Regions from separate parts of the Homo sapiens genome. Here all the other regions are linked to region 4. Evidence: promoter capture Hi-C in 16 types of primary human blood cells and fetal thymus (Javierre and others, 2016). All regions are on one chromosome and are shown on one strand. The core of a region is centred on a gene start or on the middle of the fragment in contact, and the rest is flanking DNA. Distances in the headings are between cores, read along the strand shown. Region 1 overlaps SERPINE2 (serpin family E member 2). Region 2 overlaps WDFY1 (WD repeat and FYVE domain containing 1). Region 3 overlaps LOC105373909 (a long non-coding RNA gene). Region 4 holds the start of FAM124B (family with sequence similarity 124 member B).

Region 1 (6,102 bases), core at 3,603-6,102, 420 kb after region 4:
TGGTTATGAATTTAGACATTTGAGACTTTATTTTGGAAAAAAAACATGAAGAATAACAAATTTATATTTCCATCTTCTTTTCTCCTGAGTTTCTAACTCATACCTGTCTGTTCACATTACGTCTTAACTTGGTTGCCTACTAAATTCTAGTTGCATAGATGAAACTCATTTATGCCAAGGCACCATGGCACACACCTGTAATTCCAGCACTTTGGGAAGCTGAGGCAGGAGGATGGCTTGAGCCTGGGAGTTCAAGATGATCCTCGGCAACATAGCGAGACCCTGTCTCTACAAAAAAATGTTTAAAAATTAGCCAGGCATGGTGGTGCTCACCTGTGGTCCCAGCTGTTTGGGAGTCTGAGGTCGGGGGTTCACTTGAGCCCAGGATGTTGAGATGCAGTGAGCCCTGATCACATCACTGCTTTCCAGCCTGGGGAACAGAGCAAGACCCTGTCTCAGTAAATAAATATATGTATTGCCCTTGCCCATTTAGTTCTCAACCCATCGTTCCTTAGCAGCAAATGGCACCAATACTCACCCAGTTACTTACGCCACCCCTCCTTCCCCAGCTACTGTCCCCGAACTCCCTTTGGACTCCAGCCTAGAATGTAGAGTATTGCACACGATGGAGCATTTTGCTGTTGTTTTTCCAAAATATCCATTTCAATTTCTACTAAAGTGCAGTCTAAAAAGTTTCTTAAGTCCTCAGGAAATCCATATTTACTTGTAGTAGAAGGTAATTAGAGGGACTTTCATCTATAAAGGTTTCCTGATATTAAATATTTAAGATACCCTCTTTGATTTTACAGTGTGAGCTCTTAACATTTCAGTGAGCCTAGTTACGTCTTCCCTAGTAGCACTTAAAGTGGAAATCAGATTACTTCAGGGGCTTTCTGGAAAAACTGGGTCACCCAAAACACCACTTAGAGAAAGTTCTAAATCTCCTCCACATTTTTAATGCTTGATTCTTCACTTATTGTCTCCCATTAGAAGTTTTGTTGACCACCATTCATCTAAGAGAAAATCCTTATTTTCTCTTTTTCACCTCCGCTCCTTTTCAGAATGAATCAACCTATTATACTTACGTTTTTATACACTGCAGAAATGACCCTTGTTAAAGAATACTCAGTCTGCCTTCCAGAGGTTAAAGAATAGAGAGCATCGGGTAGGGGATTTTAAAGGGAAAAGCTCTGGGACGATGAGAGGCTCCATGCTCTGACACAAGGCTCCCAAGTCCCCTTCCTTACTTGATTCATTCTGCTTGGGAGTTGTGCTTTTATCAGCTACGTAATATTCCATGTAGTTTACCTGGGTGGGCCGATTTTGTGTTTAGACTGTGAGCAGGGACCTCACATTGCAAGAAGTGAGGTATTTTACAAAGCTTCTTACATCAAAAGACGGCAGTTTTTGCTATGGGCCAGCTTATGCTGAGCACTTTGTATGTGTTGTCTCAATGAATTTTCATAGCTCTGTAAAGTAGGTGCTATTATTGTAGGCTTTTACAGATAAAGAAACTAAGACTTGGAGTCAAGGAACTTGCCAAAGTCTCAGAGCTAGTGTGCTACAAGTGCAGGATTTGAATACAGGTCTTATAACCCCAGATCTCGTGGCTTTGGCACGTGTCCTCTATAAAAGGATGCAGTACTTGAGTGACCAGGTAGAAAGACAGAAAAGGTGTTATTTTATCTCCCAGCTCCTCAAGGCACCAAATAAAGGTAAGCATGCGTATGTCTGATGCACCCTGGCTACCACTGGTCATCAGCTTCTGTGGTCAGAAGCAGAAGGAGTGGGGGGAAATCAGTCATCAAGCAGAGGTGACTGGATGCGGTTCATGGTTATTAATATTACTGATCAGTTAATAATGGGTCCAGCCAAGGATGGATTAACTGGTGAAGCTAGATGATCTCTCTCCTCCCTTGAACACATTCCAGCTCATAACTTTTCATTATTCATTACTTCAATCCTCCTTAACAGAAATAGTAAACATTTCTAGAAGCAGTTAACACCTCCAGGTCCTTATTTCATGCCCTGGAGCAATCACTTATTAACCACTTCCCATATTTCACAGTTTCTGAAAATTAGCTCCGCCAGAATAGAGATTTAATGTTTTCTTCAAGGATTAAAGAGCTCATTAGGAAGTGATTTTTTTCTCACTTTCCCATTGATTTTTCCGTTTCTGCTGAGACCATTTTGTTATGCAGGCTAAGAGTAAAGACGAAGAATCCTCTCTTTCATTCTTAGGTTGCCGCAAGACAGAAGCCAGGCTTGGGTGAGAGTTCAACACACATGGGAGCTGAGGCGAGCTGCACCCGGGTTACTGAACAGCCCTGCAGGAAATGCAGTGTGCTAGGACCAGGAGAGCCCCAGTTCCTCTGCCAGTTCTCTATGTTGTTTCTTCCTTAGGGAAAAACTGTAGTGTCATCCTGTGGTGCCATATATTCTAATAACCTCAGTATTTTTATGATATTTCAGTGTTCATCAAGTACACTCTCTTTCCCTCTCTTGGTATCTTTCTCTTCATCTCTCCCTCTGTCCATCCCTCCCAACCCTGTTCTATGGAGAACTGGCATATTGAAGTTCCCTGTCTCAAAGGCAGTGATTGGCACATGTCATCTCCAAAGAAAAGATCAGTGAAAATCGTGCAAGAAACTTGCTTTCTCTCTTCTTGTTTGCTGAACTCCCTAAGATGTGGAATCTGTTTTGTCTATAGAGCATCTTGCAGGTAGACTGTTCTCCAAATAACATTTGAGAAATGCTGGCTTAAATTATTCTTGGGTTTTCATTAGTAAGTAGAAGTACCATAAAGTATCTAAAACTCCAGTGGTGATTACTGGAATGGGTGAAGAGTGAATAGGGCAGGGTGGTGAAGTAGGAGGAAGACAATCCTTGGCATTAGACTCTCCTGGCTCCTCACTTCTTAGCCGTGCATCCTTTGGAGGTTACTTCATTTCTCTAAAGGTGGCTTTCTCAACTGCAAAATAGCACTGCTTACGCCTACCCCGTGAGGTGCTGTAGATCCTCAGCCTGTTGAAGGGTTGATATGGGCCTGGCACAGAGTGAGCCCTGTGGATGCTCTGTATCCCTGTCTCTCTTCACCTGCACATGTAGGCTTATCCAAAATGAGGACTAGAGGTAATAAAATTGCACCATGTTGGGATTCCTGCTCAATGAGTAAATTTTAGCCGCTCTTGTCCCAAAAACAGCAAAATGGGTAATTATGTGAGATAATGGATATGTTAATTTGCTTTTTCATAGTAACTATTTTACTATCTATATGTATCCCATAACGTCATATTGTGTACCTTAATATACACAATACACTTTATTTAAAAAAAAAAAAAAAAGGAATGATTCTAAGGCAGCTTGAATGTATTCTTTTATTCATGTGAGGGTCAACTTCTTGCAAAGCACTGAATTTTAAGCACTTTGTGATTTAGTTAAATTCTCCTTAACAGAATTAAAGTGATTTCAGTGATTCCCAAAGGCATTCTGTCTAGACTGAAGAAAGGAGAATTCTTCACTGGGGAAGGAAGAAATAATTGTCCTTGTCTTTGTCCTTCTAAGGAAGCTATTTGTGGAAAAGGGAAGTTCTCCAACTGAGTTGCTCTCTGAAGCTATCCCGGTGACCAGCAAGCACTCATCCTGCTTCTAGAAGTCAACAAGGATACACTGAACCTGCTTCTGATTTCTTTAGGGTCGACAAGTGCCCCCAATGATTTATGGTACAACTTCATTGAACTGCCCTACCACGGGGAAAGCATCAGCATGCTGATTGCACTGCCGACTGAGAGCTCCACTCCGCTGTCTGCCATCATCCCACACATCAGCACCAAGACCATAGACAGCTGGATGAGCATCATGGTGCCCAAGAGGGTGCAGGTGATCCTGCCCAAGTAAGTGGCCCCTTCCCCTCAAAGAAAACAGTGGCATTATTCAATCAGCAGGTGTTATGTCGGACACCAGACAACATGAGGCGAAAATATGGCACATCATGAAGCCTGTTCTGTTCTGCAGAAATTTCATGGTGGGATTACGAGGCCGTGCTTTTCTAAACGCTTTTATTCAATGCCTGTGCTTCCTGTATGGTAAGATATGGATCATAAGAAAGGAGAGAGGGCAACCTTGGTCTCTAAACCTCCACATGAGCATAAGCAGTTCATGGTACTGCAGGGGCTTTTTGACATATCTCATTGTATTTAAAAGACTGAAAACACACGTGTGTCATCATAGTATGGATGAAAGTACAGTGAGGTTTAATAGAACTCCATGTGCTTTCATAAGGAGCTTCATTTTAGTTATTTATTTATTTAACTAGAAGTTCATGAAGACCAAGGCAGCCAGTTTTTCTATTATACCCTAAGAGTAAGACAAAGATGGAATTTGAGCTGTTATGACTTGAAGCCATGGGAAAAGTAACCCCAAATCCTGTATGAATCTTCATGTTCTAACAGGTCAGAGAATGCTTTGTCCAGAACTGTGAAGAAGCAATGAATGTTGTTCCCTTTCTATGAACTTTTCAACATTGCTGCCTTCCCACCATCCAGAGCTTTTAACAACCCAGGTCTTGGTGGTAGTGGAGAGTTCTAATAGCTTTTGATTCTTTGGTCACCGAGTTAAGTAATCAGAGTAAGACATTCACAATAAGTATTACTAATTCTCTCAAGATTTTTTTTTTTTGTAAAATAAGCCTTCAAGTAGGCAATGCTTGATATAAATAAATAAATAAGATGGTGGCATCGTAGGCCTCAATGGGTGAAGAACAGGTTCTTTACCATTATAGCCCATCTGTGGTGAGAATCTGCCCACGTCTCCTTAGTGCTCTTCCACAGGATGAGATCAAATCTGATAAAGCATCCTCTGATGACAGTAACTGACATTTACACACACACACACACACACACACACACATATACACACATATATATACGTGTGTGTGTGTGTGTGTGTGTGCATATATCTCCATATATCCCCAAGGCCAAGTAGGTCACAAATATTCAAGAAACCTATATTATACCCAAATATAATACCGTGTCACCTATGCCTAATCTTTGCTCCTGTTTTAATAGTAAAATACTTTCAGAATCTCAAAAGGGGCTGGGCGTGGTGGCTCACACCTGTAATCCCAACACTTTGGGAGGCCGAGGTGGGCGGATCACGAGGTCAGGAGTTCCAGACTAGCCTGGCCAACATGGAAAAACCCCGTCTCTACTAAAAATATAAAAAATTAGCCAGGCATGGTCGTGGGTGCTTGTAATCCCAACTACTTGGGAGGCTGAGGCGGGAGAATTGCTTGAACCCAGGAGGCAGAGGTTGCAGTGAGCCAAGATTGCACCATTGTCCTCTGGCCTGGGCCACAGAGCAAGACTCTGTCTCAAAAAAAAGAATCCCAAAATGAACTATCAGGAATGTTTCTCCTCTCTTTTGACCATCTCCAATCCCAATAAGGATGGCAGGTCTTAGAGCAGCCAAGATGGATATGGAGAACTTTAGTTGGATATGGGGAAGAATAATAGATATTCCAGAGTACTAGGAACTTGTTAACACTCAACCTCCACGTCAGTATAAAAGAAAGTATGTTTGTAGATCTTCCTAAGTATTGGAACAGGGGGCCCATTACACCTGAGGGTGGGAGCGCCTATTCTTGCCGTTAGTACATATGACTCATTTTGCCAGCTAAGTGTTTGAGAGAGGAGTTGTCCTTTACTTATCTGGTATTTAAATTTGGAATTCAAATTTAAGATGCAATTCAGATCGGTATTCAGATATTAACTTTAAAAGAATCAGTTTGTAAACATGCACCGACTCTATCATGTAGCATTTATAGCCTCGTGATTTTTTTTCTCCATTTCTGCTTTCATGCTAGGTTCACAGCTGTAGCACAAACAGATTTGAAGGAGCCGCTGAAAGTTCTTGGCATTACTGACATGTTTGATTCATCAAAGGCAAATTTTGCAAAAATAACAAGTATGTTCAATTTAAAATGTATTTGTATACTTGAAGAAAGTGTTACAAACTGAGACTGATTTGTGCAGAGAAAAAGGATCAGAATTAGGAATGTGTTGCCCTGAAACTGTACAAGGTTTCATTTGATACATTGCCAAA
Region 2 (6,278 bases), core at 3,701-6,200, 460 kb after region 4:
CCTGTTGGTCCTTTGGATTTTGCTTTTGAGTGAGCTTGTGCCTTTTTCCTCAATTAGATAATGAGCTGATTGTGAGCAGGCAGTGGCCTCTCCCTGCTGGTTCACCTGTAGCTGACTTCCAACAAGGAGGGGAGTGATTGGCAGGACCTGGCTGTGGGTCTGTAAAGCAGAAAGGAGTGAGAGAGATCGAGTGCATGAGACCTGGGGAGAAGGTGGGGACCTGAAAAAGGCAAGGACAGAATAATGACTTTTTTTTTTTTTTTTTAAGATGGAGGCTTGCTCTGTCACCCAGGCTGGATGGAGTGCAGTGGCATCATCTTGGCTCACTGCAACCTCCGCCTCCCAGGTTCAAGCGATTCTCCTGCCTCAACCTCCTGAGTAGCTGGGACTATAGGCGCCTGCCACCACGCCCAGCTAATTTTTCTATTTTTAGTAGAGACAGGGTTTCACCATGTTGGTCAGGATGGTCTCGATCTCCTGACCTCGTGATCCACCCGCCTTGGCCTCCCGAAGTGTTGGGATTACAAGCATGATCCACTGGTGTCCGGCCAGAATAATGACTCTTGCATGATGTGAACGTAGATGCAGACAACACTCTTTAAAAGTTAGCCTTTGGGCCGGGCGCGGTGGCTCACGCCTGTAATCCCAGCACTTTGGGAGGCCGAGGCGGGTGGATCATGAGGTCAGGAGATCGAGACCATCCTGGCTAACAAGGTGAAACCCCGTCTCTACTAAAAATACAAAAAATTAGCCGGGCGCGGTGGCGGGCGCCTGTAGTCCCAGCTACTGGGGAGGCTGAGGCAGGAGAATGGCGTGAACCCGGGAAGCGGAGCTTGCAGTGAGCCGAGATTGCGCCACTGCAGTCCGCAGTCCGGCCTGGGCGACAGAGCGAGACTCCGTCTCAAAAAAAAAAAAAAAAAAAGTTAGCCTTTGGCCAGGCGCAGTGGCTCATGCCTGTAATCCCAGCACTTTGGGAGGCCGAGGCGGGTGGATAACAAGGTCAGGAGGTCGAGACCATCCTGGCTAACACGGCGAAACCCAGTCTCTACTAAAAATTCAAAAATTAGCCAGGTGTGGTGGCAGGCGCCTGTAGTCCCAGCTACTCGGGAAGCTGAGGCAGGAGAATGGCGTGAACCTGGGAGGCAGAGCTTGCAGTGAGCCAAGATTGTGCCACTGCACTCCAGCCTGGGCGATAGAGCCAGACTCCGTATCAAAAAAAAAAAAAAGTTAGCAGCCTTTATTCGGTCAAATATTTTATTCATGAATCATGCGTTTTGGGTAAGTTGCTAAATATTTGAGATTGCTGGTCAGGAGCAGTGCTGATAAATGTTTTTGGAAAGTGATTACTAAGCTGCTCTGGGACTGAAACGTTCTGGGGGAGCTTGCATCTGCTCACTTTTTCACTCGTGCACCACTGTTATTGCAGAGCCCAGGTAGATGACTGGACCAGGATGGGGTTGGCGTTTGAGGTTTCTGTTGTGTTCAGGCTCTTGCAACTTCCTTGAAGGGAGAACAACCTTTTTAGTAGGTGCTACACTTCATGAGATGTAATGAAAGCACATGGGCGTGGGTTTTTTCTTGGTGTTAGCCATGGTGGTTTGTTTTCACATTGTCATAAATACGTGTCACGTTCTTCACTCATTTACTCATTCATTTAGAAAAAGCTTTTTTATTGAGTGTCAGGCCCTGAGGACACAACAGGGGTCAAAAGCCACACTACCTTGGCCAGGCAAGGTGGCTCACGCCTGTAATCCCAGCACGTGTGTGGGGCCCATGCTAGACCTGTGGGGGAGAGACAGCTGACAGCTAAGTTGCTCTTTCCCAAGGGCTGAACAGTCTAGTGAAGAGATGGCCCCTATGTATTCAGCATCCAGTGCTGGGAAGACACAGGAAGAGGAGGCTCTTTGGGCTGGGGCCGGGGTTTGGGGACAGCCTCCTAGAGAAGGTCGTTGAGCTGGTCTTCATGGATAGAGGAGTGGCATCTAGAAAGGAAGGAGGGATGCACCCTCATCCCAGGCAGAGGAAGGAGGAAAGGACAGGAGGGAATTGTAAGAGGGAAAGAACCATAGCTATTTCTAAGTGACCAGAGCAAAAGGTGGGCAGTGACAATAGCAACAGAGAAGACTGAGAGCTAGAAGGACCCAGTGTCCGGTTTTGTTTTGTTTTTTAAATTAAAAAAAAAAAGTTTTTGGGGGCCAAGTGCGGTGGCTCACGACTGTAATCCCAGCACTTTGGGAGGCCAAGGCAGGCAGATCACCTGAGGTTAGGAGTTCAAGAACAGCCTGGCCAACATGGTGAAACCCCATCTCTACTATAAATACAAAAATTGGCTGGGTGCAGTGGCTCACACTTGTAATTCCAGCACTTTGGGAGGCCGAGGCGGGTGGATCACCTGAGGTCAGGAGTTTGAGACCAGCCTGACCAACATGGAGAAACCCCATCTCTACTAAAAATACAAAATTAGCTGGGCGTGGTGGCACATGCCTGTAATCCCAGCTACTTGGGAGGCTGAGGCAGGAGAATCACTTGAACCCAGGAAGCAGAGGTTGAAGTGAGCCGAGATCATGCCATTGCCCTCCAGCCTGTGCAACAAGAGTGAAACTCTGTCTCAAAAAACAAAAACAAAAAAACCCACAAAAATTAGCTGGGCATGGTGGCACACACCTGTGGTCCCAGCTACTTGGGAGGCTGAGACAGGAGAATCACTTGAACCTGGGAGGCGGAGGTTGCAGTGAGCTGAGATCACGCCACTGCACTCCAGCCTGGGCAACAAGAACAAAACTTTGTCTCAAAAAAAAAAAAAAGAAAGAAATAAGGAATTTGGACCTTATTTTGCAGGCAGTGTAGAACCATCAAAGAGTTCAAAACAAGCAAATGATATGATCGGAATTTGTAATTTAGAAATAACAATAGCTAACCTGTTGAAAGTCCCTTTTCTCTACGAGTACAGAATTGGACCTTATGTGTTATTGGATCCAATCCTCACACTTCCTCCCTATAAGGTAGGTACAGTCACCTTCTCTTATCAGCAGTTCCAAAATTTAGTGCATTCTAAACGTCAGAAGTGTGTATGTGTGTGTGTAAATTGGACCTGAAAACTCGTTTGGTGCTAAAATTTGGCCTGAACAAATGAGACTGTTTGTAATCTTTATTTACTGCATGCATCACAGTGGCATGATCTTGGCTCACTGCAACCTCTGCCTCCCAGGTTCAAGCGATTCTCCTGCTTCAGCCTCCCGAGTAGCTGGGATTACAGGCACCCGCCACCACACCCAGCTAACTTTTGTATTTTTAGTAGAGACAGGGTTTCACCGTCTTGGCCAGGCTGGTCTTGAACTCCAAACCTCGTGATCCACCCGCCTCGGCCTCCCAAAGTACTGGGATTACAGGCATGAGCCAGTAGCTTTTTACATTTAAAGTAGGGTCCAGCTGAAGTGAATTCATTTTACAAACGCTAAAAGCAGTGAGAACTAGCTGAGAGCATTTTGAGAAGAAAAGTGAAAGGTATGAAGGTTTTCCTGAAGTTAGTATCCACTTTTGTAAAATCTAGGCCAGTGGTTCTGGGCCAGGGGTGGTTTTCCCACCCAGGGAACATTTGGTAATATCTGGAGACATTTTTGGTTGTCATGATGTGGGGGAGGTGATATGGTTTGGCTGTGTCCCCACCCAAATCTTATCTTGAATTGTAGCTCCCATAATTCCCATGTGTTGTGGGAGGGACCCAGTGGGAAATAATTGAATCATGAGGGCAGTTTCCCCCATACTGTTCTCGTGGCAGTGAGTAAGTCTCAGGAGATCTGATGGTTTTACAAGGGAAAACCCCTTTGGCTTGGTTCCTATTTCTCTCTTGTCTGCTACCATGTAAGACATGTCTTCTGCCTTCCACCATGATTGTGAGGCTTCCCTAGCCACATGGAACTGTGAGTCCATTGAATCTCATTTTGTTTATAATTACCTAGTTTCTGGCATGTGTTTATCAGCAGTGTGAAAACGGACTAATACTGTATGTAACTAATACTGGCATCTAGGTAGAGGGTAGGGATGCATCTCAGTATCCTGTTATGCCCCACACCAAAGGATTATTGAGCCCCAAATGTCAATAGTGCTGATATTGAGAAACCCCAGTCCGGGCTTCATGTACTTATCTGGCCTCTCTAGAACACTGGTTCCTTAACTTGAATGTGCATCAGAATCACCTGGGGGTCTTGTTGAAATTCGGGTTGCTGGACCCCACCCCCAGAGTTTCTGATTTGGAAAGTCAGGTGGGGCCTGAGAGTTGGCATTTCTGCCAAGTTTCCAGGTGACGTTGATGCTGATGCTGCTAGTCCAGGGACCACACTTAGAACCACGGCTCTACAAGAAAGGAGGGTTATTTGTCACTGTGCTTGCCTATGTACAACCACCAAGAAAGAATACTGAATACAGAAATTAGCCAGGCATGGTAGTGTGCACCTGTAATCCTAGCTACTTGGGAGACTGAGACGGGAGGATCACTTGAGCCCGGTAGGCGGAGGTTGAGGTGAGCTGAGATCGTGCCACTGCACTCCAGCCTGGGTGACAGACCAAAACCCTGTCTCAAAAAAAAAAAAAAAATACTGCTTACATTTTATCCTCTTTTTTTTTGTCACCTTCTGGGATATATTTACCTGGGGTCATTCACAGATAGCCACCTAGTTCACTGTAATCAAACTGCATATGACAAAGCTAGATACGGTCAGCACTCCAAAGAGTATTAAGCCAATGTGGAATATCAAAGCTTAATGCCATTACACCTGGGAGTCACAGGTCATTAGTGGTTTGGGTGGTCAGCTTAGGGTTCTGCTTAGAAACCTTTATGGATTAATGTCTCGTGAATGGTTAATAGAAAATGGTACTACTTCTTGTATGAAGTCATTAGTATTTTGCTGAAGTAATAATTACCTTAAGCTCTTTAATTTAAATTTAAGTTTAAGAATTTGAACTACAGTGGTGACTTTCCTGGTAGGGGAAACAGAAAATAAGACTCTGCTTTCAGAGCGGAACTAAAATGGTGAGACAGTAGGAACCAGTATGTTTGCTTTTTGGACTTTTTTGCTGTGGACTGCACCAAAAATGTAGACAGTCAGTTGATTGAATGATACAATTTTTAAAAGGTAAAAGCTTTATAAAGCCTTATAAATAAGTTAAGGCTATAGGCCTACTGTCTTCACTTTTGAGAAATAGAGTTTGTGGATGGACGTACTTATACTGTTGCATTAGGGGCTCGTAGGCCAAGATTGGTTTCTGCAGGAAACTCAATTTTGTTTGTCCCAAGTTAAAGATAAATCTCATGTGATTTAAAATGTTTTGAGATGTTGCACTTAGGCTGGGAAAGAGTAAAGATTACAGAAAACCAACTTTTAGATGTTTTTTAGCATTTTCCTTTTTTAAAAATTATACCAAATATGTAATATATTTGCTTCCACTTAGATATATCTAAGTTTATTAAGATGGTTTGGGGAAAAATTTGTGTATTTACCAATTGTTCACATAGAAACAATCTTAAATAAATAACTTGATTTTTAAGTGTTATGCCTGGGAGGAAGGCTGGCATAGCTGGAATTCATTAGTTAATACAGAAAACCAGGATGTTAACTGCTGTATTTTCATTGTCATGCAGAGCCTAAAAGTAGACTTTAATTTGTGTTATAAAATAAACTGAAGACTTGAGAAGGCAGGAAGCCTGGGTGGCCACCCCACACATTTACTCCTGTATTGTTAGGGTGATCCTTCATTGTTACAATCATTTTCTTTTTATAGCATAGTTAAGAACAAAGGCTTGGGAGCCAGAATGCCTCAGTTTGAATCCCAGCCCTGTGATCTTAGACAAGTTATTTAACCTCACTGTATCACAGTTTTCTCATGTGCAAAATGGACATGAGTCCGTTTTGTACCTGCTTTACAGAGTTTTGTGAGGATTAGGTGAATTAAACCACGTGGAACAGTGCCTAGCACAGAGAAAACATTATGCAAGTGTTAGTTGTTATTGTTTTCATTCCCATTTATTTTCCATTTAATTGCTTTAATCTTAAAGACTGGGACAGAGAAAGCACTATACAAGTGTTAGCTATTATTATTTTCATTTCCACTTATTTTGCATTTTGTTACTTTAATCTTACGAAAGAGTAATATGTTTCTACTTTGTATGCATGTTTGTGTGTGCACGTGAATAAGTGAAAATAAAAAAATTTTTCCTGTTTGAATAGGACAATACCATTTGAGGGGTTATTTACAATCCTAAATTCTTAGAACTGCCTTTG
Region 3 (6,202 bases), core at 1,046-3,545, 270 kb before region 4:
CGTTTATTTTTCAAGAGAAATGGGTAGGAATTACATTGAAGTAATATCTTCCTCCATAGTCTGTTAATTAGATGATCTGAATAAAGATACTTCATAATATTCCCTTGCATTTCTAAAATGTTTATAAGTTTTAACTTTCATTTTCAAAAGATTTAATTTGATTATGGGAGATAAGATACGGTATATTTTATTATCATCACTGGGGGAAAAAAATAGCAAAATTTGAAGTCCAGACAAAAATTTGCCCAAATTCTAACTGATGAACACATAAATATTTCTCATTTAGTGCTAGAATCACCTCAATTTCAGCAGACCATAGTGAGGGGGTTGAGGGACTCTAATTCAGAAGCAAAATGAGTGTTAACAGTTTTCATTTAGAGTTGTTTCTTTTTTAGAATTCAGTCTCTTGCCACCTTTCCCCAGTTTCATATTCAGCGGGTCTGAGTTGAATCCCTGAACCTGCTTTTTTTTTCTTTTTTTTTTTTTTTCCCTGAGATGAAGTCTCGCTCTGTTGCCCATACTGGAATGCAGTGGTGTGATCCCGGCCCACTGCAACCTCTGCCTCGTGGGTTCAAGCAATTCTTCTGCTTCAGTTTCCCTTGCAGCTGGGATTACAGGCATGTGCCACCACGCCGGGCTAATTTTTGTATTCTTAGTAGAGACAGGGTTTCACCATGTTGACCAGGCTGGTCTCGAACTACTGACTTCAGGTGATCCACCCATCTCGGCCTCCCAAAGCGCTGGGATTACATGCAAGAGCCACCGCACCCGGCCTGAATCTGCATTTTTAATAAGCATCCCGGGTGATTTTTATGCAAGAGGTCCTTGGATCAGTTTTGGAAAACGATGCAGGGGTTTAAAACACAATGTTTGGAGTAACCTGAGTCCAGCCCCAGCTCTGTCCTGGCTGCTTGACGTCAGACAAGTTTATCTTTATGAGCCTCAGAATCTTCACTTATAAAATGAGGACCATAATTACTTTGTTCAGGCTGACATAACAAAGTACCACAAACTAAATTTATTATCTCACAATTCTAGAACTACAAGTCTGAGATCAAGAGGTTGCCAGGGTTGGTTCTTGCTGGGGGCTGTGAGGGAGAATCTGTTCCATGCCTCTCTCCGAGCTTTGGGTGGTTTGCTAGCAGTCTTTGACACTCCTTGGTTTGTAGATTTCTGCCTTCATCTTCACATGGTGTTCTCCCCATGAGACTGTCCGTGTCCAAATTCCCCCTTTTGTAAGGACAACAATCATGTTGGATTAGAGGCCTACCCTACTTTAGTATGACCTCATCTTAACTGATTACTATTATGTCTTAACAATGACATCTTAACTAGTTTTATTCCATTGTCTCCTGAAACACTGGGAGTGTGAGCCTCCTTTCTACCTTTACTATAGGTTATGACATATAATTATCATTTAAACAAGAGAAATGGCCCTTTCAAAATGGTTCTTGTATACTAGAAAGATAAATGATCTGTGTTTTCTTTATTTTACAAAATATAAGAAATATAGCAATTAGGAAAACCTTACCAATGCACTCAGGGTCTGAAAGCTGTGGGAAACAAAGCAATCACCTTGGTGCTTTCTCTGCTTTTAGAAAGAAACTTATTTTTTAAAATCCTGCTTTTAATTATATTACTTAGGCCCCAGGGTACTGAGTCTTTTCTAATTGTTTGCCTTTTGTATAAGGGTTTTTCCATTGTTTCAAGGTTTTATTTACTTACGTATAATTCAACTAATAGAATTGTTGACTCTCTTAGAAGTTAAGGTAGTTTGCCGGGTGCAGTGGCTCATGCCTATAATCCCAGCACTTTGGGAGGCGAAGGTGGGTGAATTACCTGAGGTCAAGAGTTCCAGACCAGCCTGGCGAGACCCCATCTCTACTAAAAATACAAAAATTAGCCACGCATGGTGGCTTATGCCTGTAATCCCAACTACTCAGAAGGCTGAGGCACAAGAATTGCTTGAACCCGGGAGGCGGAGGCTGCAGTGAGCCAATATTGTGCCACTGCACTACAGCCTGGGTGACAGAGTGAGTCCATCTAAAAAAAAAAAAAGAAATTAAGGTAGTTTAAAGGGTTTATTGTTTAACTTAATGATTAAATTCCCCATGTTGTCCCAAAATATGGCACTTCTTACAAAGAAAAGAGACACCATTAAAAAGTAAGTAGAATTGCGTAAGAGCAATTTTCAGAGTAACTATCTATTCTCATTATCCCCCAGCAAATTAGCCACTTCACAGATTATTTGCTGAAAACGTAAACTCTTATCAAAGACAGGATGTGAAAGCTAAGGTATTTGCATTACCATTAACCCTCTAGTGACTCTGCAACTCTGAAAGCTCTCAAAATATGTCATTTCTTGGCTGGCTGATCACCCAAATATGACAAAGACAGGTGTTATGGTTAATTTTATGTATCAACTTGACTGGCCATGGGGTGCCCAGATTAGACATTGTTTTTGAGTGTATCTGGGAGGGTATTTCCAGATGCAATTAGCATTTGAATCAGTGGACTCATTGAAGTAGACTGCTCTTCCCATGTATATGGGCATCATCTGATCAATTGAGAGCCTAAATAAAAGAAAAAGTGGAGAAAGGAGAAATTTGCCCTGCTCTGCTGAGCTCGGACACCTCATTTCAGCTTCTTGGCCCTCAGAACGTGATTTACATAATTATTTCTCCTGTTTTCCGTCCTTCTGACTGAATTGTACCACTGGCTTTCCTGGGTCTCCAATTTACAGATGGCAGATTGTGGGACTTCTCAGGCTCCATAATTGCATGAACCAATTTCTCATGAACCAATGCCTAGGTGACAGAGCGAGACTCTGTCTCACAAAAAAAATAAATAAATAAAAATGTATATATATATATCCATATGTATATTACTGGTGCTCTTTCTCCGGAGAACTCTGACTAATGCAGTTAAGGAACTATATATGCATCTAACTATGCATGCATATGTAATGCATGCAAGTTTTCTATAAAGTTGTAGAAATTTCTAGTTAGGGTCATCAGCATATGATCAGAGTCTGACCTTTTGTAAAACTCGAAGAAATATTCTCCAAACTCCTTCAAAATTACATTGCGGTCAATATATGGTAAGATAAAGAAAACTGGGTATGCTTTACACTTCAGCAATGTCTTCCTTTTTTTCTTTTTTTTTTTTTGAGACGAAGTCTCAATCTGTCACCTAGGCTAGAGTGCAGTGGCACGATCTCGGGTCACTGCAACCTCCACCTCCTGGGTTTCAGTGACTCTCCTACCTCAGCCTCCTGAGTAGCTGGGATTAAAGGCACCTGCCACTACGCCCGGCTACTTTTTGTATTTTTAGTAGAGACGGAGTTTCACCATGTTAACCAGCATGGTCTCCATCTCCTGACCTCGTGATCCGCCCGCCTCAGTCTCCCAAAGTGTTGGGATTACAAGCGTGAGCCATCGTGCCTGCCCCTAGTAATGTCTTTCTACATATTCCTTTAGTTAAATCACCTGTGAAAGGTAACATAACATTACCTTGCCTTTGTAAAATCCTTTATAATTTTTAGAATTCATTTGAGGGATTGAATTTGATCCTGTGAAGTAAGGTAAGGCACATTTTATTGTCCCCACTTTTAAAGGCAGACTCTAAAGCCCATTAGATTTTGCAGTCTTGTAGGAGATAACTACTGTTTTGGCCTGGCCAACATCCAGCCACCCTCTAGAAGTCAGTGCCTGGTCTTTCAAGGAACTAACCCTTTCCCAACACTTAGGTTACAGGATTAGATGAGTCGACCTCATACCCACAAACCTCCTGTCTCTAAAGAGAAGCATGTGATTCAAATTAGCCAATAGGTGCATCCCATTTCCCTGGCCACATTGACTGATTCAGGGTGGGGCACATGACCCATGATGTTTCAAAAAGAATTGAATCTGGTCCTTTTATTATAACTGTTGTGAAAGATGAGCTTTTCCTGAAGATGCTAACCTTGCATGATGCCTTCTTTGTCACCACAAGAGAGAACTTGCCCAAAAATGAAGCCAACATGAAGAGAAACAGAATCGGGAATTGAGAGGGACATATTATTGGTGACGTTGGGCCCCATATTATTGGTGAAGCTGTGCCTGCAACACTACTGCTTGACTTTCTAGATAAGTGGGCAATATGTATTTCTCTTTTCTGGAGAAAAGAGAAATATGTATTCTTTTTCGTCCAGTTTAAGTACAATTTCTGTTACTTGATACTAAAATAGTCCTTACTGAATACAGTTAAAAATTCTAGGCCAGGCACAGTGGCTCATGCCTATAACCACAGCAGTTTGGGAGGGCAAGGCAAAAGTATCCTGAGCACCTAATTGGAAACTGCAATAAGCAGACACAAAAGAACATCAAGATTTGGTGGCATCTGCTCAGCCTTTAAGTTAGCATGGACATACCAATGTGTGTCGGAGGATTACTTGAGCCCAGGAGTTCAAGACCACACACACACAGTGTTTCTCAGAGGGGATATTCTGGATCAAATGAGGTTAAGTGATGGTTTAGGCTTTCTAAAATCCATCTCGGTGAAGCAAATATAATGGTTTCTCACCTTGTCTTTGAGACGGTGTGGGTCTCACTCCAGGTAGGAAAGGATAAGCAAGCTTGGTGAGGCTTTTCTGATTGCTGGAAATCAAGTCTCCATTACCTGGGAACCACAGAAACAGTACTGCCTTTGGTCTCAAGCAACAAGGGCTGCAAAACTGAACCTCACACATTAGAGGAACCCACTCTGGCCTTCATCTGGCTACTGGCTCTCCCCACAGACCAAGGAGTCTACAAGCCCAGTGGACATACTCCCCTGGATCCCACATTTTCTTCTTCTGAACCATGATCCACATATACAGAACCTCAGAATCTTCTGCCCAAAGAGTCCCACGCCTGATTCCAGAGCCTAAGCTCTTCCCAGGCTCCTCATACTGAGACCAGAGTGGCCAAAAAGCAGTTATGTATGTGAGATGTGGGGAGAACCATTGCAGAAGGTTTCTTGCAGAGCAAGATGGAGCTCAGATGGGAAAAGGAAAGTCACAGATGCATAGAGGCAGGGACGTCCAAGGATTCCAATAATTCTAAAACTGAAACCAGGGCTGCATGCAGTGGCTCATGCCTGTAATCCCAGCACTTTGAGAGGCCAAGGTGGGAGGATTACTTGAGCCCAGGAGTTCAAGACCAGCCTGGGCAACATAGTGAGACACAACTCTATAAAAAAAACTTTTAAATATTTTTTTTAATTAGCCAAGAGTGGTGGCATGCTTCTGTATTCCCAGCTACTCAGGAGGCTGAGGTAGGAGGATCACTTGAGCCCATGAGATGGAGGCAGCAGGGAGCCATGATCATGATGCCACTGCACTCCAACCTGGGTGACAGAGAGACACCCTTTCTCAAAAACAAATAAATACATTAAATTAAATTGAAACAAGCCTTCTAATCATTGTGAAGATGAGGACACAATATGTCTTATATAACAGTTTGGTGCCTTGATTTATAACTTTTACATATTTGCACATATGGCACAATGGCCTCCATTTGGACTCCTGCCCCAGACCTCACAGTATTCAGAGCAGGCCCACAGAGGAAGCAACAATTAAAGGTCCAGAGAAAGGAAAAGAGGACTCTGTTCTGGAAAACAGCTCCCTCTATTATGGTTTGGGTGTGTCCCCATTCAAATCTCAACTTGAATTGTATCTCCCAGAATTCCCATGTGTTGTGGGAGGGACCTGGGGGAGGTAATTGAATCATGGGGGCCAGCCTTTCCCATGATATTCTCATGATAATGAATAAGTCTCAAGAGATCTGATGGGTTTATCAGGGGTTTCCACTTTTGCTTCTTCCTCATTTTCTCTTGCCACCACCATGTAAGAAGTGTCTTTTGCCTCCTGCCATGATTCTGAGGCCTCCCAGCCATGTGGAACTGTAAGTCCAATTAAACCTCTTTTTCTTCCCAGTCTCAGGTATGTCTTTTATCAGCAGTATGAAAACGGACTAATACAGTAAATTAGTACCAGGAGCAGGGTGTTGCTGAAAAGACATGCAAAAAATGTGAAAGCAACTTTGGAACTGGGTAACAGGCAGAGGTTGGCGCAGTTTGGAGGGCTCAGAAGAAAACAGGAAAATGTGGGAAAGTTTGGAACTTCCCAGAGATTTGTTGAATGGCTTTGACAAAAATGCTAATAGTGATATGAACAATAAGG
Region 4 (6,445 bases), core at 1,709-4,208:
CTGCCATCCAGGAGCTGATGACTGCAGAAACCTGGGCATCATTGCCTGCCAAGTTTAAGAAAAATAAGATAGAGAATTGGAGTGACAGCTGTCCGGGTGCTGAGAGTCAAAGCTGATGATTTCCCTTAGTATTTTTGTCTGTGCCTTCAACAGAAGCACCATGCTAAAACACTGTTGTGCTGCACAGCTGAGAATCTGGCATTTGTTGTGGGTGGAAGGCAGTGACCAAAGGTGGAGGCAGTTTGGGGAAGGTCAGTCAGTATTTCACGTTGTTCCTGGGGAAATAATCACAGAGACAGCCAGTCAGAAATGAGGCTGGTCCCCCTCTTCCCTGGCCTCCTGCCCCTTGGATTTGTTGGCACTTTGGCTGCCAACAGATTAATGAAATCTTTTCAATCCTGAAAGAAATGACAACCTCATCAGGAAAAAAGTGTATTTTCAGCATTAGATGGAAGATAATATCAAGAAACAAAATCTTTTCCTATGTAAGAGCTTTAATACTTACCTTGTGCAAAATGTTGTGAGTTAATATCGTGGTTTCAGGGGAACAATTTTTCTCCTCAAATCTTTAGAGTTATTTCCAGAATTTCAAAGCCTATTTCAAAAACTATAGTTTTGTCTAAAGTACAATCAGCTCTGTGAATGGAAGGGTTGCGGAAGGGAGAGTGTTCACACTGAGAGATGAGATAGTTATCTGCTTCCAATGCCAATGCATAACATGAATGCTGTCGAGTTTTTTTTAAAAAAGCTTGAGATTTGTAATGCCAAAAAAAAAAACCTCTAATGATTTTTTTAAAAGTTGAAACAAGATGAATTTAATTACTGAGCTGCTCACAATAACTAGGAAACAATTCCTCTGTTATAAATTGTATTTATGTATTTTTCCCATGCAAAAAGTACAGGAATTATGAAACACAAATGATTAGAATTGTACGTTAGATTTACATAGTGAATCTGAATAGAAATAACTCCTTTTCTTGGATAATAATATTTTACTTTAAATTAGGTTGTTATACTATTAAAGGAATCCAGATATATAAAGTTGTTATATTTTTCATCACAAAAGTATTTTTTAATGTAAAAAATTGTCACACTGTGTTTCATTATAAGGATTCATAAATTTGCCTCTTTTATTTTAATTTTTTACAGCTCTTTTTGAAGTACATTTTTTTTCTTTGAGACAGGGTCTTGCTCTGTTGTCCAGGCTGGAGTGCAGTGGCATGAATTTAGGTCAGCACAGCCTGGAACTCCTGGGCTCAAGCGATTGTCCTGCTTTGGCCTCCCAAAGTGTTGAAATTACAGTTGTGAGCCACTTCGCCTGGTCCAATTGCCTCTTTTAAAAAGAATTGTGTTTAGAAAAAGTGCTTGTTCATACCTGTTGAGGAGCACAGCTATCAGGAGAGCAAATGATTTTTTAAAAATATTTATTTATTTATTTATTTTTATTATTTTTTATTTTCTGAGACGGAGTCTTGCTCTATCACCCAGGCTGGAGTGCAGTAGTGCGATCTGCAACCTCCACTTGCTGGATTCAAGTGATTCTTGTGCCTCAGCCTCCTGAGTAGCTGGGATTACAGGCATGCTCCACTTTGCCCGGCTAATTTTTGTGTTTTTAGTACAGACGGGGTTTTGCCATGTTGCCTAGGCTGGTCTCGAACTCCTGACCTCAGGTGATCCACCCGCCTCGGCCTCCCAAAGTACTAGGATCAAGGCGTGACGACTATGCGTGGCCACAAATAATTTTTAAATCAATATTTAGAACACATTTAGGGTGAGTGTTTAGAGCTTGACAACTTTCTCATTGAAGATTATTCCGTTTAAGATTCAACAGCTCAAGAGTCTGCAAATCTAGATCCTTAACCAGAACTTGCTTTTATATCTTTTCCTTACAAGAAGAATACCCAGGCTGGGACTTCAAGGCCCCAGAGAGGCAGTGCAGCAAGTTCCTGGGTTCAAATCATCCTTCAGCTACTTCTTAGCTGTGAGACCTTGGGCAAGTTACCTAGCCTTTCTATGCCCCAGTTTCTTCATCTGTAATTTGGGGCTAGTAATCTCTTCTTCATAGGTTTGTTGCAAGATTAAATTAATTTACATTAAGGGCCAGGTGTGGTGACTCATGCCTGTAATCCCAGCACTTTGGGAGGCCAATGCGGGCAGATCACCTGAGGTCAGGAGTTCGAGACCAGTCTGGCCAACATGGCAAAACCCAGTCTCTACTAAAAATACAAAAAAATTAGCTGGGCGTGTTGGCGCACTTATAATCCCAGGTACTGGGGAGGCTGAGGCAGGGGAATCTCTTGAACCTGGGAGGTGGAAGTTGCAGTGAGCCAAGATCACGCCACTGCACTCCAGCCTGGGCGACAGAGCAAGACTCCATCTCCAAAACAAAACAAAACTAATTACTTTAAGAATTAGAACAGTTTATGACTGGTACATAGTAGATCCTCATTAGACACTAAAAATTATAATTACAATTGTTAATTATAATTATTTATTATTATAATTATATGAGCAATTATAGGAAAGCTCTCACTCTTTCTAAAGAATTTGCGTGAATAAAGGAAGACTAATTTTCTCAATGTCTTTTTAGTACACTCAGAATTTTCGGTACAGCAAATAATTTTCAGTGAAGTCAAAATTATTTAGATAAAGTCTTCTCTTCGTGCCCTAGCAGAAAATGTTCAGAAACAAAATGAAATAAAGAGACAAAGGAAAAAAAAAACTGGCAAAGGGTCAGGTTTTGAGAATTGTTTTCAAGAAGTCATTGTATTCAGATTGGTGGAGCAGGCTACTGTAAACCGTAAGTAGGAAATGAGAACCCGTTGTAAGTTGATAAAATGGATGTCTTTTCAACTAAACAGATTGCTATCAGCCTAACAGAGCCAACTCATGTTCCTTTTCGGCCGGTCATTTCCTGTACTAAGTGTCTATAAGAGCCGCCCATTTGGGTGTTTCTCAGGATTATAGGTTTTTAGGTCACGCAGAAACCCTGGGGAACGCCTGAAAAGGCTAAACACAAGCAGTTACATTATGCACAAGCTGGATGACGTGACCCCGCTGCTGCTGTGTGGAGAGGGAGGCTGCTGAACCCGAGCTGGTGTGAGCTTCTCTTGCCGTAAGTCCACGGGTGGCCAGGAGCACGTGTTAGTCTGGTTAAGAGCTCTGCTCAGAAGTAGCCGCTGCAGCTGAAGGTTTTCAGGCGGGCTGAAGGCTGGGCCGCTTCTTCATTCATTTCAGAAACTTGAACAGTGGGCCTTCTACACACGCTGTCTTTGTCAGCCTCAGGCAGTTCCTCCATGGATGAGACACAGGGGCCTCTGGCCATGACTGTCCATCTTCTTGCCAACTCTGGGCACGGCTCCCTTCTGCAGAGGACTCTGGACCAGCTCCTGGATTGCATTTGCCCAGAGGTCCGGCTCTTTCAGGTGTCTGAACGGGCCAGTCCTGTGAAATACTGTGAAAAGTCCCATTCCAAGCGGTCCCGGTTTCCAGGGATGTCCGTGTTGCTCTTCCTGCACGAAAGCCCGGGAGAGGATAGGCTATTTCGCGTCCTGGACTCTCTCCAGCATTCGCCATGGCAGTGCTACCCCACCCAGGACACTCGGGGAAGGCTGTGTCCCTACTTTTTTGCCAATCAGGAGTTCTACAGCCTGGACAGTCAGCTGCCCATCTGGGGGGTGAGGCAGGTGCACTGTGGCTCCGAGATCCTGAGGGTGACGCTGTACTGCAGTTTTGATAACTATGAAGACGCCATCAGACTCTACGAGATGATCCTGCAGAGAGAAGCGACCTTGCAAAAGAGCAATTTTTGTTTCTTCGTGCTCTATGCCTCCAAGAGCTTTGCTCTGCAGCTCTCCCTGAAGCAGCTGCCCCCGGGAATGTCAGTGGACCCCAAAGAGTCTTCGGTGCTGCAGTTTAAGGTTCAAGAGATCGGCCAGTTAGTGCCTCTGCTACCCAATCCATGCATGCCTATCAGCAGCACCAGGTGGCAGACTCAGGACTACGATGGCAACAAGATTCTGCTTCAGGTATTTCTGTTTTGTCTCAGATCTTGTAGAGGCTCATGGAGCTGTGTAATTTTACATCGGAATGGGCCTAAGCTAGTGGTTCTCAGACTTGGTTGCATATTAGCGTCCCTTAGGGTCTTTCATAAATTCCCACCCCAGGGCAGTTTGATCCGAATCTCTGGGAACATCCAGGCCTAGGTAACTTTTTTACAGCTTCTTGGATGACTGTAATCTGTAACAGGGTTGAGAATCACTGATCTCATAAAATCTCATCTGACAGATAAGAAAGTTCAGATTCCATGAATTTGCAGCTGACACAAGTACTTTATAGTAGAATCAGACAGGATTCTACTATAAAGATCAGAATCCTATTAAAGAATCGGCCTCCTTTCTCAGGCTTGCCGTTTAAATGCCCATCAACTATACCCCTATCCTTTGTTTACTCTTTGGGCTCAGGAATGTCACAAGCTCTTCTAATCTGACTTAAGGAAGTTGAAGTCATACTTATGTTTAGATATGGTTTTTTTAATTTTTAATTTTTTTATTTTTTAGAGATGGGAGTCTTCCTCTGTTGCCCAGACTCGAGTGCGGTGGTGCCATCATAGCTCCCTGAGGTCTTCACCTTCTGGGTTCAAGTGATCCTCCTGCCTTAGCCTCCTGATTAGCTGGGACTACAGGCACGTGCCGCCATGTCTGGCTATTTTATTTTATTTCTAGAGACGGGGTCTCACTATGTTGGCCGAGCTTGTTTAGGGATGTTAAGTTTGCAGTACTATTGACTTAATTTTTATTCTTTATTATTATACTTTAAGTTCTGGGGTACATGTGCACAAAGTGCAGGTTTGTTACACAGGTATACATGTGCCATATTGGTTTGTTGCACCCATCAACTCGTATTGACTTAATTTTTAAGCATCTTGCATCACTGTCAAATTTTACCACATACCAAGTTAGATAGAATGCTTTCTTAAAAAAACTTGAAATTAAAGCCTTCCTTTGTAACCATCCTCGAAAACCTAACATAGCATGTGTGTATTTAGTCATGATAGCTGCCGTGCATTGCCTTTCCATGGTATGTGAGCCTGGGCACTTAGTAGCTGTATGACTGTGGGCCTCAGTTTCTTCATTAGCACAATAAAGGCACCCGAGAATTAGCATCTTCCTCTCTCATACTTACTTACAGGAAATGACCTGACACTTATAAAGTACATAATTAAGATAGTGCCAAGAACTCAATTTTAGCTATTATTGTTCATATTATGCCCTATACTAAGGATTCTCTTAAATTGATAATTTTATTTAATACTTATAACAACCTATGAAGTTACTATTTTTCCCATTTTGGAGATAAGAAAACTGAGCTTTCCAGGGGGTCAGTTATTTGCCCAAGATAGGAAGTATCTATCTACCCTCAAAGTTCATGTGGTCAGCCGCTGCAGTCCAGTGTATGTGTGTAAATGTGCAAGCAGGGGGATGAATGTCATGTTCACAGCAAAATATCCTGTGGCTTCTGTCCTTAAGAAATGGTCAGAAGCTCCTTAAGGCCTATTGAATAAAGTAATAAGAGACTACAAGATGAGATGTCTTTCCATTTGGTTAATTTTGTTGTCATCACTTTGACTTGTTAATAAAACATGAATCATATTCCATATTAAATGATTTCTAAATTATTCACCTTCTTGCTCACATAAGGTAGACAGGCACTGTTTCTGTTAGTTGCCTATTATAAAACCCCATAATTTCCAAGGCATCTAAAATTTCTTTCAGTTTTAGCGACTCTCTAGTACTTAAAATCAACCTCATGGTCAAACAAAAATGTAATGTGTGTGTGCAGCAAGGGACATGATTTTAATCATTCCTGTCTTTAAGGCTGACTGACATTTTTGCTATGGAACCACAGTTTAAACAACTTAGTTACTTTGGAAAGTTGAGTCACATTTGGGGAGTGTAGAAGAGTTTTTTGGATAAAGAGAAACTCCATGAATTGTATGAAAAGAGCCCTCTTCCTCTCTGGATTGTCCCAGGAGCCTGGCCACTTCTCAGGTGTGAATGGGGCATCAGCCCCTCACTCTTTTGTTTTTGAGACAGAGTCTCTCTCTGTTGCTCAGGCTGGAGTGCAATGGTGTGATCTCAGCTCACTGCAACCTCTGCCTCCCGGGTTCAAGCAATTCTTGTGCCTCAGCTTTCCCAAGTGGCTGAGACTACAGGTGCCTGCCAACATGCCCAGCTAATTTTTGTATTTTTAGTGGAGATGGGGTTTCACTATGTTGCCCAGGCTGGTCTCAAACATCTGGCCTCAAGTGACCACCTGCCTCAGCCTCCCAAAGTGCTGGGATTATAGGCATGAGCTACCACGCCCAGCTGCCTCTCACTCTTGATAGCCCCCTTGGACATCACCTTTGTCCTGACCTCCAAACCTCAGAGACTTCTGCTTCCTC

The links. The method cuts DNA at HindIII sites, captures the fragments that hold promoters and counts their contacts. A CHiCAGO score of 5 or more calls a contact.
Region 1: a contact is called between a fragment that was not itself captured here and the fragment with the promoter of FAM124B in region 4, in 1 of 17 cell types (megakaryocytes). The highest score is 5.4, in megakaryocytes.
Region 2: a contact is called between a fragment that was not itself captured here and the fragment with the promoter of FAM124B in region 4, in 1 of 17 cell types (erythroblasts). The highest score is 5.7, in erythroblasts.
Region 3: a contact is called between a fragment that was not itself captured here and the fragment with the promoter of FAM124B in region 4, in 4 of 17 cell types (neutrophils, activated CD4 T cells, naive B cells and 1 more). The highest score is 6.7, in neutrophils.

Annotation. Positions count from the first base shown.
Region 1 is chr2:223,982,543-223,988,644 of GRCh38, reverse strand. SERPINE2 (serpin family E member 2) reads left to right here. Exons shown (of 9, transcript NM_001136528.2): 5 at 3,695-3,893; 6 at 5,864-5,964. Among named protein-coding and RNA genes, the nearest start is that of MRPL44, 28 kb to the right of the region's middle. The HindIII fragment of the contact is 6,938 bases long and covers 1,384-6,102 here.
Region 2 is chr2:223,937,172-223,943,449 of GRCh38, reverse strand. The region is part of intron 1 of WDFY1 (WD repeat and FYVE domain containing 1); the gene reads left to right. LOC124907989 (a long non-coding RNA gene) reads right to left here and starts at 226. Exons shown (of 2, transcript XR_007088100.1): 1 at 1-226. The HindIII fragment of the contact is 383 bases long and covers 4,759-5,141 here.
Region 3 is chr2:224,663,332-224,669,533 of GRCh38, reverse strand. It overlaps LOC105373909 (a long non-coding RNA gene), which reads right to left. Exons shown (of 3, transcript XR_923955.1): 3 at 4,577-4,659. Among named protein-coding and RNA genes, the nearest start is that of CCDC195, 50 kb to the left of the region's middle. The HindIII fragment of the contact is 4,645 bases long and covers 1-4,617 here.
Region 4 is chr2:224,398,620-224,405,064 of GRCh38, reverse strand. It overlaps FAM124B (family with sequence similarity 124 member B), which reads left to right and starts at 2,958. Exons shown (of 2, transcript NM_001122779.2): 1 at 2,958-4,028. The coding sequence starts at 3,297. The HindIII fragment of the contact is 5,745 bases long and covers 751-6,445 here.